Linked DNA regions of Homo sapiens: all the other regions are linked to region 4. Evidence: promoter capture Hi-C in 16 types of primary human blood cells and fetal thymus (Javierre and others, 2016). All regions are on one chromosome and are shown on one strand. Each heading gives the region's core, a stretch centred on a gene start or on the middle of the fragment in contact. The rest is flanking DNA. Distances are from core to core; before and after follow the strand shown. Region 1 overlaps LOC124904486 (a long non-coding RNA gene). Region 2 has its middle 14 kb from the start of FMOD. Region 3 has its middle 22 kb from the start of CHIT1. Region 4 holds the start of ATP2B4 (ATPase plasma membrane Ca2+ transporting 4).

Region 1 (2,881 bases), core at 184-2,683, 360 kb after region 4:
AACACAATTGCTGCTGTTGTGAATTTTCTGTTACTCTCATTTCTACCTCATCTTAACTGAGATGCCCTGTGATAGAGTGGGGGATTTGAACCTGAGTCAGTCAGCTGTTTCTCAACACAATGCGAGGTTTCTGGGTCCCCTGTGTGCTCCTGCTGTACCTCATCAGCTCTTAGGTGTGAAGCATCCCTTAGAACTCTGATGAGGTGGCGTTGAAGGAGGGGAGCCACTCTAATGCAGCTTTTCGAACTCATCCATTCCAAAGATGGCTCAGGGCCTTTGCTAGATCCAGAGGCAGCTTGAGGGCGAAAGTCCAGGGCCCTGAGAGGGTGGAAGAGGTGACACTTCTAAGATCCAGGAAACCCCAGCCTCTGCCACAAGACTGGCTGCACAGCTACCCCTGTGGCAGGTGAAGGCAGTGCTCAGGTAGTCCTGGGACTCTTTCTAAACTTCTCTGGCCTGGCCCTCAATGTCCTCTGACAGACTCTAGCTTGCTGGGACACCTCTAAGGAAACTGCCAAGGGAACTGCAGAAGCAGGAGCAGGTGAGAAGTGCCCGGGTGTCTTCTTTCCATGGGGGAATTTGGAGAAGCATTCTGAGCCCAGCAAAGTGTCAGGCAGGCAAGGTAAGGCCTCACCTGATAGGAGGTGTATCCTCGTACCTAGTCTCAGCAAGGAAGGTTGCCAGCTTCATGGCTCTTTTGAGTTAAAAGGGCTGTAAGATCCTTGGTAAACGACCAGAGCCTGAATGTCACAGGGAAGAGGTTGGACTGGGACCCAATACAGCTGCCTATGTATCTGAGAAGACGCTATTTATAAACAGAGAAGGTATTTATTGGCTGGACAATCCTGAGGAAGTCTCCCACTTCTCACTCTCATTCATAAAGTGGGGATCATGATCACTACCTCTCAAGCTTACTGTAACATTGAATGAGGTAATGAATATGAAAACACTCAAAATCTATAAAGTATCTACAAACCTGGAAGATTATAATTCTGCATTTGTACAGTAGAAATAACAGTACCATGGTTGCTATTAGTGCCCAGCCAAATCCCCTTTACTGGTCTGGTGCAACCCTCCATCCCTGCCCACCGGCTGCTGTGAGGTTTGGCTGGTAACAGTTCACAGTTATTCCCTCTGCAGAGACTTCCCCGGGAATGGAAGCTGCCTTACTTGGGGCTTGCAGCCGATGCTTGTCTGACACAGGGGCAGGAAAGGCCAGTCCCCGACCTCAAGACAAGATGAACTCTGGTGTAGCACATGCTTCAGGGATCCCCATGAAATCAGGCCGCAGCTCAGCCACAGCTGACACCACAGCCTGGCTCCCTCCTTCCCCACCCCACTCTCCTTCCTTTTCTTTCTTCTGAGGGTTCTTCCCCAACAGAAGAAGATATGCATGAAATCTGTCCCAGGCTCTGCTTTTAAGGAATCTGGTCCACTTGTCTGCCGTACAAAGTTGCTATGAGGGTTAAATAATATAATACAGATGAAGAGATTAGCCCAGTGCCTGGCATATACAGTGCATATCCAATTAATGTTAAAGATTGCCATTATCCATGAGACTGGAGCATCAGGAACATCTTAGTGTAATAGTGAGGTGTGGAAATCTGGTGAGTGAGTCAGTGGATTGAATTTTACATGCTTAGGGACTGGGGTGGGCAGAGAGAAGGGCAGCTGGGTTTCCTTGGGTATCACTGGTTGTCTCAGCTTTGGGCAGTGAGGGTCCTTTACACAGCTAGGGAAAAGTTCCAGTCATTACATACTTCTACCAGCAGAGGACGCCACTTCCATACAAATAAGTGTTTCCTCTGCTATCTGATGCAGTTTTCATCAAAGCAGTCTAGGCTGGCAGGAAAGATCAGGTACATGACAGAGCAGAAAGTGCCTTCAGATTTGCACAGATAATAGGAGAGGGCAGAACAGGAAGAAACAGTGAGTTAAGCTGTTCAGGAAGCTTCGTGGGAGGTGAGGCCTTGAGCAGGGCACTCTAGCACCAGAAGGAGTATTGAGTGGAGATGGCATTCCCAGGGAAGCCACTACCCTAGGCAAGGTGACCAGGGCCTGAGCCAGGGCCGTGGCAGGGAGGCAGCCACGAGAGGGTATGAAGGACACCAAACACAGGGACAGGACTGATTTCAGCTGAGAGGTCTAGGAGGAGATCATGGGCCCACCAACATGGGGTAGACGTCAGGAAGGAGCACGTTTTTATAGGACAGAGCACACTTCTCCAACTGGTTTGACTGCCCTGTTACAATGTCCTCTGCAAGCCATCATTCTGTAGGATTCCTGTTTTGTGTGGATTCTAGAAACCAGTGAAATATTCAGAGGTGTTAATAGCATCAAGATTTCATTGGTTCTTTCCATTCTTTTTATTTTTATTTTTTGAGATGGGGTCTCAGTCCCTGCCCCAGGCTGGAGTGCAGTGGCACCATCACAGCTCACCACAGCCTCAACACCCCAGGGCTCAGGCGATCCTCCTGCCTCAGCCTCCTGAGTAGCTGAGACCATAGGTACGTACCACCATGCCTGGCTAATTTTACATATATACACATATATGTGTGTATATATAATTATATACGTATATATACACATATATACATATATAATTATATACATATATACATATATACACACACATATATGTGTATATATATACACACATATATATGTATATATACACATATGTATATGTGTGTGTGTGTGTGTGTATATATATATATATATATATATATATATATATTTGAAGAGACAGGGTCTCCTTACGTTGTCCAGACTGATCTTGAACTCCTGGGCTCAAGCGATCCTCCTGTCTCAGTCTCCCAAAGTGCTGGGATTACAGACGTGAGCCACCGCGCCTGGCCAGCTTTTTCCGTTTTGAGTAGAG
Region 2 (2,829 bases), core at 125-2,624, 290 kb after region 4:
AGTGCAGTGGCGCGATCTCAGGTCATTGCAACCTCCACCTCCTGGGTTCAAACAACCCTCCTGCCTGCCTCAGCCTCCCAAGTAGCTGGGACTGCAGGCATGTACCACCATACCTAACTTTTGGCTTTTTTGTAGAGATGGGGTTTCATCATGTCGCCCAAGCTGGTCTCCGACTCCTGGACATAAGCGATCTGCCCGCCTAGGCCACATGCCTAGGCTTACAAAGACTTTGTAAAGGATTACAAAGGAAACTAATTACATTGAAGTACAGTTACCAAAATATAAAACATATACATTTTTGATATAATAATATATATGTTTCTTTATTAAGTCGATGAATAACAAGATTTAGCAACAGGTCTAGTTAATTATAGTCATTTCAAACTATTGATGCATGTAAATGGCATATCAAACTATTTTAACAACTGTAATGTGATATAAAAATATCTTGGCCGGGCGCGGTGGCTGGCCGGGCGCGGTGGCTCATGCCTGTAATCACAGCACTTTGGGAGGCCGAAGCGGGCGGATCACGAGGTCAGGAAATAGAGAACATCCTGGCTAACACGGTGAAACCCCGTCTCTACTAAAAAATACAAAAAAAATAGCTGGGCGTGGTGGTGGGTGCCTGTAGGCCCAGCTACTCGGGAGGCTGAGGCAGGAGAATGGCGTGAACCCGGGAGGCGGAGCTTGCAGTGAGCGGTCTGCACTCCAGCCTGGGCAACACAGCAAGACTCCGTCTCAAAAAAAAAAAAAAAATCTGTGGGCCGGGTGCTCTGGCTCACACCTGTAATTCCAACACTTTGGGAGGCTCAGGCGGATGGATCACTTGAGGTCAAGAGTTCAAGACCAGCCTGGCCAACATGATAAAACCCTGTCTCCACTAAAAATACAAAGATTAGCTGGACATGGTGGCGCATGCCTGTAGTCCCAGCTACTCAGGAGGCTGAGGCAGGAGAATTGCTTGAACCTGGGAGGCGGAGGCTGCAGTGAGCCAAGATAGAGCCACTGTACTCCAGCCTGGGCAACAGCGAGACTTCATCTCAAAAAATAAAAAATAAATAAAAATATATGTGATTTCAGCTGGTGACAAAGCCTCAGGTACTGCTAATAAGGCTGTGGTTTGTTACCTTCATAATTGAAAGGAATGCTACATTTCTGTTAGATGTATGAAAAACAAAGATAGGATTTCCCATTTCTCTCTAAGTCAAGCCAAGGAAAGACAAGCAGAAACATGGATCATAGAGGGAAGGCAAGAAAAATAGGCAAATCATCGTCTTTTCTCTCTATGAACATAGCTTAATCACTCAACAAATTTTTACTGAATGCAAACCTTGAGCTAGATAATGTGTCAGTAGTTGCTGCATTTAGTATGTGAAAGTTGAATGTAAAGTTCTCAAGGTTCTTGCCATGGCATGTGATAGAAATAATAATAACTAACATTTGTTTTACCTTAACAACTTAAAAGACACCTAGTTCATTCAAGAACCCATGAGGTAGTTTGCTATAAGTGCCAATTAAGGCATAGGGACAAAATGTTCATTTTTTTTTTCCAAGGGTGGGGAATGATGAGGGGCAGGGTAGCCAGGAATGCTGCAGAACAGCCCCAAGCTCCCTCTCACTGGGGGCTTGCAATGCACTTCTTTGTTAGCTTTGTTTGCTAGCTCAGCCATTTATTCTACTAAGCACTCAGATGCAGGGTCCACAGTTGATGTATATCATCAGGAGACTCAGTATCCTGTGTAGACCTCAAACTCTCCCAGAAATTCTTCTGCCTCAGACAGATGGGAGCTAGTAGACATGACTCCTGTTGCCAGCTGAGCCTCTGGGTACCTAGGCTAGAAAGTTGTGCCCAGATGGAGCAAACACATTGCTCAATCTTGTAGCAGCCCAGGTTTCCAGAGTAGGAAACTTTTCTGGAAACTAGGCCATGCTCATATGTGCTGCATGAAATGGCACAATAAACTGGACCTAATCCTTTCCTGGACCGTGTGGTCCAGGGAGCAGAAGAAGGGGGAAATGAGTCCAGAAAGACTGGAATGGACAAAAGGACCAAGCAGACCATGCCCAGCCATGCTGGGCTCCAAAAGAAACTGCAAACACTAAAGATAAATGAGCTGTTTCCATCTATGTGTCCAGATTGTGAGCTACACGTAGGGGAGAAAGAACAGAAGTACATTTGACCCAGTTTAAGAAATAAAAACAGGAAATGGGTCAGAGTTCCAAGAGGCAATAAGAAGACCTACCTACATAAGCAAGAGTATTGGAAATCAGAGGGGTCAGTCTTGAACTTTCTTACAACCCACCAGAAATAGAGAATCGGCAGCTTTGTCCTTGTATTCTACCCCAATAATCCCCACATTTTCTCCACAAGTGTTCATCAGAGCCATGAGTTTTGGCAAAATAGGACTCTGGAGGCAGGCAGGGACAATAACAGAAGCATGCTATCAGTGCCAGGCTTAGCTGGCAGTCCCAGAGGTAGATCTGAGTCAGATAACAAGACCAACAATGGCAGTTTGCACAAGAAGGTGTGCGGAAAGCTATTCCAAGGAAGGAGCCAGAAAACTCAAGTCCCAAAGTAGAAACAGATATATACAATCAAGGTATACACACGGTCAAGGCGTCAGGGGCATAAGCAGTTCCAAGCCCTGTAGCAAGGGTAAGCCAGGAGCAGAGGGGATGTCCTTATGGCAGCAGGGGAGTGGACCCAGAACAGCCCTGAGGGCTTTGGCCCAGAGCAAGTGTCAGGTGGTGTTTCCTGGCCCGTCCTCCCCTAAGGGGACTCTCAGCCCATAGGCACCTTAAAATTATGAAAAGCATCTCTCATTGGCC
Region 3 (2,805 bases), core at 260-2,759, 380 kb after region 4:
CTATGTAAGAGAACAGGCAAACAAGTAAGCAAGCAAGCAGTTTTTCTGAATTAAGGGGCTTTAATCAGGAAACCACCACATGGTACTCATTAAAAGTAGATTGTTAAAACATTAAGAGGTTATGTTTCACGTAATTGCAATGGTTACCACAAAGACAGTAACTATAGAATGTAAGTGCTATGATTTGAATATGGTTTATCCCCCACTGAAATTCATGTTAAGGCTTGTTCCCCATGTAATGGTGTTGAGAACTGGTGGGACCTTTAAGAGGCATTTGGGTCATAAGCCATCTGTCCTTATGAAGGGATTAATGCCATTTCACAGGAGTGAATTATTGCTCTTCAGTGACTGGATTAGTTACCGCAAGAGTGGGTTGTTATAAAGTGAGGTCACCCCTCATGTTTTCTCTCTTGTGTGTGTACCCGCTCAGTGCTCTCACATGCATAACCACCATGTGATGCCATCCTCCATGTTATGACACAGCATGAGACCCTCGTCAGATGCAGCTGTTTGATCTTGAACTTCCCAGCATCAAGAACTGTGAGCTAAACAAACCTCTTTTTAAAAAATAAATTACCTGGTCTCAAGTATTCTGTTACAGCAACAGAAAATGGACAAAGACTGTAAAGGAAAGGAAGTGAGAAGGGAATCAAAATCTGTGGCCACAAAAAAAAATTAATGAAACACAAAAGAAATTATCAAAAGAAAAAAGGGGGGGGGGACAAAGAAAGCTACAAGTGAAACAGAACACAATGAACAAAATGGCAACAGTAAGTCCTTCACTATCAGCAATTTCTTAAAATGTAAATGCCATTATGAGCAATTATATGCCAACAATTGGATTTGGCAATAATTTCTTGGATATGATACCAAAAGCACAGGCAACAAAATAAAAAATAGACAAATAGTACTACATAAAACTTAAGTTTTTTTACACATCAAAGTAACAGTCAACAGAGAGAAAAGGCAACCTATGGAATGGGAGAAAAGAGTTGCAAGTCATATATCTGATAAGGGGTCAATATCCAGAATATATAAGGATCTTGTACAACTTAACAACAAGAAAAACCCCAAATAATCCAATTTAAAAACTGGCAAAGGATTTAAATAGACATTTCTCCAAAGAAGATATATGAATGGTTATTAAGTACATGAAAATATGCTCAACATCATTAATCACTAGGGAAATGTAAATAAAACTCACAATGAGATATCACCTCACACCCATCAGGATAGCCATTATAAAAATAACAGGAAATAACAAGTGTTGACAAGGATGCAGAGAAGTTTGGGTCCTCATGCACTGGTGGTGGGAAAGTAAATTATACAGATGTTATGAAAAACAGTATGGAGTTTCTCAAAACATTAAAAATAGAACTATCATATGATCCAGCAATCCCCCTTTTGGGTATATAGCCAAAAAGCTTCAAAGCAGATCTCAGAGATATTTGCACACCCATGTTCATTGCAGGATTATTCACAATAGCCAACAGGAGGAAATAACAGGTAATTGGATAAGAAAATGTGGTATATGCACATAATGGAATTTTATGTGCCCTTAAAAAAGGGCATGTTACAACATGAATGAAGCTTAAGGACATTATGCTAAGTGAAATAAGCCAGTCACAAATGGACAAATACTGTATAATTCACTCATATAAAGTATCTAAATAAGTCAGAATCCTCAAAACATAAAGTAAAAAGGTAGTCGCCAAGAACTTGCGGGAGGTGGGATGGGGAATTCATGTTTGGTAGGTATAGAGTTTCAGTGTTGCAAGAAGAAAAATTTCTAGAGACTTGTTGCACAAGTGAATATACTTAACAGTACTGAAATGTACATTTAAAAATGTTTAGGATGGTTTAATGTTGTGTGGTTTTTACCACAATACAAAAAAAAAGACTCAGCTAAGAAAACGAACAGGCAAAACCAAAGGCTGGTAGAAAACATTCACAGTACATATATCTGAATATGGATTTCTATCCAGAATAATAAAGAACTTCTAACACAATAAAAATGTGGATGACAGACTTGAGCAACATTTTCAGAAGCAAACAAAGACATATGAATGGACAAAGACATATAAAAAAAGTGCTCGACATCATTACTCAGCAGGCAAAGGCAAATTAAAGCCATAATGAATCACTACATGCCTACTAGAATGTCTAAAATTATAAAGACTGTCAACACCACATGTTGGCAAGCATTTGACATAACAAAAACTCTCACGTTGCTCTTGGATGTGTGAAATGGCACAATTACTTTGAAAAGTTGCTTGCTTGGTAGCTTCTTATTAAACATAAAGCTAGCTGATGACTCTAATTTTACACCTGTGTATTTATTCAAAGTAAATGAAAACATATGTCCACGAAGAGACGTATACATAACTGTTCATAGAAGCTTTGCATTTCTGATAGCCAAAACTGGAAATAACCCAATGTTTATGAAGTGGGATATATTCATAAAATACAATACTTCTTGCAATTAAAAGAAACAGACTACTGATAACAACAAAATGGATGAGTCTCAAAAACTTTATGCTGACTGAAACAAGCCAACATTAAAGAGCTCTCGGTGGCCAAAGCTGGAAAAATTTGAGCAGCAAAATAAATAATGTACTAATAGTATTTGATTATAACTCAAAACATAAATAAATATCTATGAGTCCATATGGATATAAATAAATGATATAGTAAATAAATGGGAGAGAAGGGACAAATGTCCCATACAGAATTATATAATAAAGGTATGTAGTTGCTTCTTCCCCAAGGAAGTGGAGCTTAACTCCTCACCCCTAGAGTGTGGGC
Region 4 (2,950 bases), core at 345-2,844:
GGCAGGAATGCCCAGGAGGGACGTGCCTCTGGCAGCAGAGTGCCCACTCCCCTCCCAAGATGCGGCTGGCCACTCCTGCACCCTCCACACCCAGTTGGAGAAGAGCGGCGGGTACCCTCAGGGAGGTGGAGGAGTGTAAGAGGCCAGACTCGACTCGGGGAAGGATGCCAGCAGCCCCCTCTACCAAGAGCGAGCCAAGTATGTAAAAGAAAGAGAGAAGGGAGAGCAGGAAGGACAATCCCAGTCTTAATTCCTAGCTCTTCAGCAAGCCAAGGCAGTGGCCCGAGACGCTCAGGGATCCTTCCACAGATGCCTGTGGCCCACCCCATCTGCCAAACACTCACCAGCCCCACAGTGTCCAGCCTCGACATCGGAAACTTTTCAATTCACCCTTCTCCTTCCTCCCCTTTGGGACCAGAGATGTGTGGGGCGGTGCCCTCGGAGACACTCATACAGTTGGTTCTGGACGCTCACACACACTCAAACAACAGCGGTACGAGGTAACTCCCAGCTTTTTCCACAGCTAATTATACATGTGAAAGTCTGAGGATGTTTTGCAAGCAGCACAGAGAAACTGCTGAGGTTTCTCTGCAAAGCTAAAGAAATTTAATTCGTGCACTCTCCTTCCCCACTCCTGCCAACTTCTCCCAGCCCACCTCCACCCCATGGCCCCAAAGTGCCCCTCTCCTAGTTCCCGCTGCAGCCCCTCTTTCTGCTGAAGATTTCTTTGGTTCCTTTTTTTTTTTTTTTTCCATCTCTCTTTTGGGCTTTCGAGAAAGGGAACAGACACGGAAAATATTTTTGCAACAGTTTTCCATCCTGCGTCTCATTCCCAAGCCAAGGGGGGAAGGGGAGGGCAGGAACGGAATGGGTTGAGGGAGGGGAGATAAATATTTTTTCCAAGAGCTCAATTTTGGTGTCAAAAAGAGAACCCTCCATTACCCTACCCCATAGCCCAGGAATGACAAGAACTAGGAAAAGAGAGATAAATCACTTGTTCGACTATATGGTTTCTCAGAACTGATAATAGGTAAAACAGTATTTGACAAATCTGTGCACACACACATATTTTAAAAAAAATCCTCCAAACCCAGTCGCATGAAATATTCTAGAAAGAGGAAAATCGGGGAGTTTTAGAAGCCATTGAGAGAAAAGAAAGAAACAAAGTTTGCAAATCACAAGTCAATTCATTCTCTGCAAGCCTACCTCTCTTTCTAGCAAAGATCCAGGTTTCTTCAGGCGGGACTCTCCCTCCGGGTTTCCATGGATGAGGGTAGGGTGGGGTGACCACCCACCAGTCTCCCCAGTGTGGCAACCAAGCTAGAGACGCTGGCTTTGCTCTCTTGCCTTTCTGGCTAAGGCCGGGGAGTGGGCTGGGTCTCCTCCCCCTGCCCCTCCAATGGGAAGGACCTCTCAGGTTCCTGAAAGAAAAAGGGTGCAGGAGAGCTGGGCGGGTGTCTCTGATCTTGCTCTCTTCGGAGGGATGGTGCCCCACGAAGTTCGTGCCCCCCCTCCCAGCCCCCAGCTTTGGACGATCTCAACAGCAGAGCTTTCTTAAGAAAATGCTTGTCATGGCAACAGCTCTAGCTAACTCGGGCCAGACTCTTGCTCACCAGCTCTCCCCAAGCAGTGCGGGAAGAGAGAGGGGAGGAGCAGGAGCTGGAACAGAGGTGGGACTTGGCGCGAGGCCAAACCATTACTCTACTGTTAAGGTGGCCCGATTCTTGCGGTTACTTCCTGGTTCGTCTTAAGGGGGAATGGGAAAAGAAAGGGAAGCAATCCTCTCCCCTGTCGGCTTTCTTCCCCGCCCTTGCTCTCACTTGTTGAATAGAAAGCTGAGTAGGGGTGGAGGAGGGGTGAGGGTGGAGGTGGGGAGTGGATGTGGGTGGCGGTATTCAACGGTTGCTGGGCGGAGGGGAAAAAAAAGGAAGCTTGGGCAGGCGGCTGGCTTCCTGCAGCTCCTACGGGCCTCTCAACCCCTTACTCACTTAGATCCAGGACCCAGAAACCCGAGGTGTCTGTGGACACTTGTATGTCCCCTCCTACCTTCCTGCTCCTGTCTGAATAGGGGGTTCCTTGGAGAAGGAGAATAAATTGTTTTGTAAACACACACACACACACACACACACACACACACACACACACACACACACCCGTCCTCCCCTACACCTTATATACAGGTCACATTTTGTTCCCTCTTGTCCCTGTACCCACCAGAGGTATACTGACAGTGCATGAAAATAGCTGCTTACTTTTGAGTCCTGCTATGCGTGGGCTATGACACCAAAAGCTTTGTCTATATGGTATCGTTTCTAGTCCTCATTTAATCTTGAAAGGTACTTATTATTAACCTCATTTCCTAGTTGAGGGAATTGAAGATTGAGTGTCTGGCCCAAGGTTATACATCCGGCTAATGACAGAGCCAACGATTCAAGACCAAGTCAGACAGACTCCAAAGCCCGAGTACTTTCCTGTACTTTGTATCATACTCCGGCACATATTTCCGTTTTAATTTGCACACACTCAGACATCCATGCACACTTATACACAGCCTGTAAACAGTTAATCACACCCCCATACCCACACACCCACTAGCATTGTGCAACAGTGCCACCCATAGATTTTGCATAGAACTTTATGGCTTTCAAGCACAAACATGCACCATCAGCTGGTTCACACAACATATCTTCATTGACTGACAGATTCCCACACCTACCTCAGCAAACACACTCATGTTTATATGCTTATGGAAGGCACATTGACATATGTCTCACAGGTTATAGCTATGAGCTATGCTGTGAAGAAGGTGACTGGCCACTACTTCCCAACCTTTTAAACAGAGGGTTGGGAAAAGGCCTCTTTGATCCTATCATTCTAACCCAACAGCTCACACCACCCCCTGTCCTTCTTTGCTGTCATCTCTGCCCCCAAGAAGCAGAGCCACATGTGC

What was found. The method cuts DNA at HindIII sites, captures the fragments that hold promoters and counts their contacts. A CHiCAGO score of 5 or more calls a contact.
Region 1: a contact is called between a fragment that was not itself captured here and the fragment with the promoter of ATP2B4 in region 4, in 7 of 17 cell types (activated CD4 T cells, non-activated CD4 T cells, total CD8 T cells and 4 more). The highest score is 8.0, in activated CD4 T cells.
Region 2: a contact is called between a fragment that was not itself captured here and the fragment with the promoter of ATP2B4 in region 4, in 1 of 17 cell types (activated CD4 T cells). The highest score is 5.6, in activated CD4 T cells.
Region 3: a contact is called between a fragment that was not itself captured here and the fragment with the promoter of ATP2B4 in region 4, in 3 of 17 cell types (naive B cells, total CD8 T cells and fetal thymus). The highest score is 6.5, in naive B cells.

Annotation. Positions count from the first base shown.
Region 1 is chr1:203,268,144-203,271,024 of GRCh38, reverse strand. LOC124904486 (a long non-coding RNA gene) reads left to right here. Exons shown (of 2, transcript XR_007066798.1): 2 at 1-2,881. Among named protein-coding and RNA genes, the nearest start is that of LINC01353, 18 kb to the left of the region's middle. The HindIII fragment of the contact is 1,041 bases long and covers 913-1,953 here.
Region 2 is chr1:203,335,342-203,338,170 of GRCh38, reverse strand. No RefSeq gene overlaps it. Among named protein-coding and RNA genes, the nearest start is that of FMOD, 14 kb to the left of the region's middle. The HindIII fragment of the contact is 4,053 bases long and covers 1-2,829 here.
Region 3 is chr1:203,250,436-203,253,240 of GRCh38, reverse strand. No RefSeq gene overlaps it. Among named protein-coding and RNA genes, the nearest start is that of CHIT1, 22 kb to the right of the region's middle. The HindIII fragment of the contact is 166 bases long and covers 1,427-1,592 here.
Region 4 is chr1:203,625,476-203,628,425 of GRCh38, reverse strand. It overlaps ATP2B4 (ATPase plasma membrane Ca2+ transporting 4), which reads right to left and starts at 1,594. Exons shown (of 21, transcript NM_001684.5): 1 at 1,207-1,594. RefSeq lists enhancers at 853-1,725, 1,726-2,600. The HindIII fragment of the contact is 13,651 bases long and covers 1-1,933 here.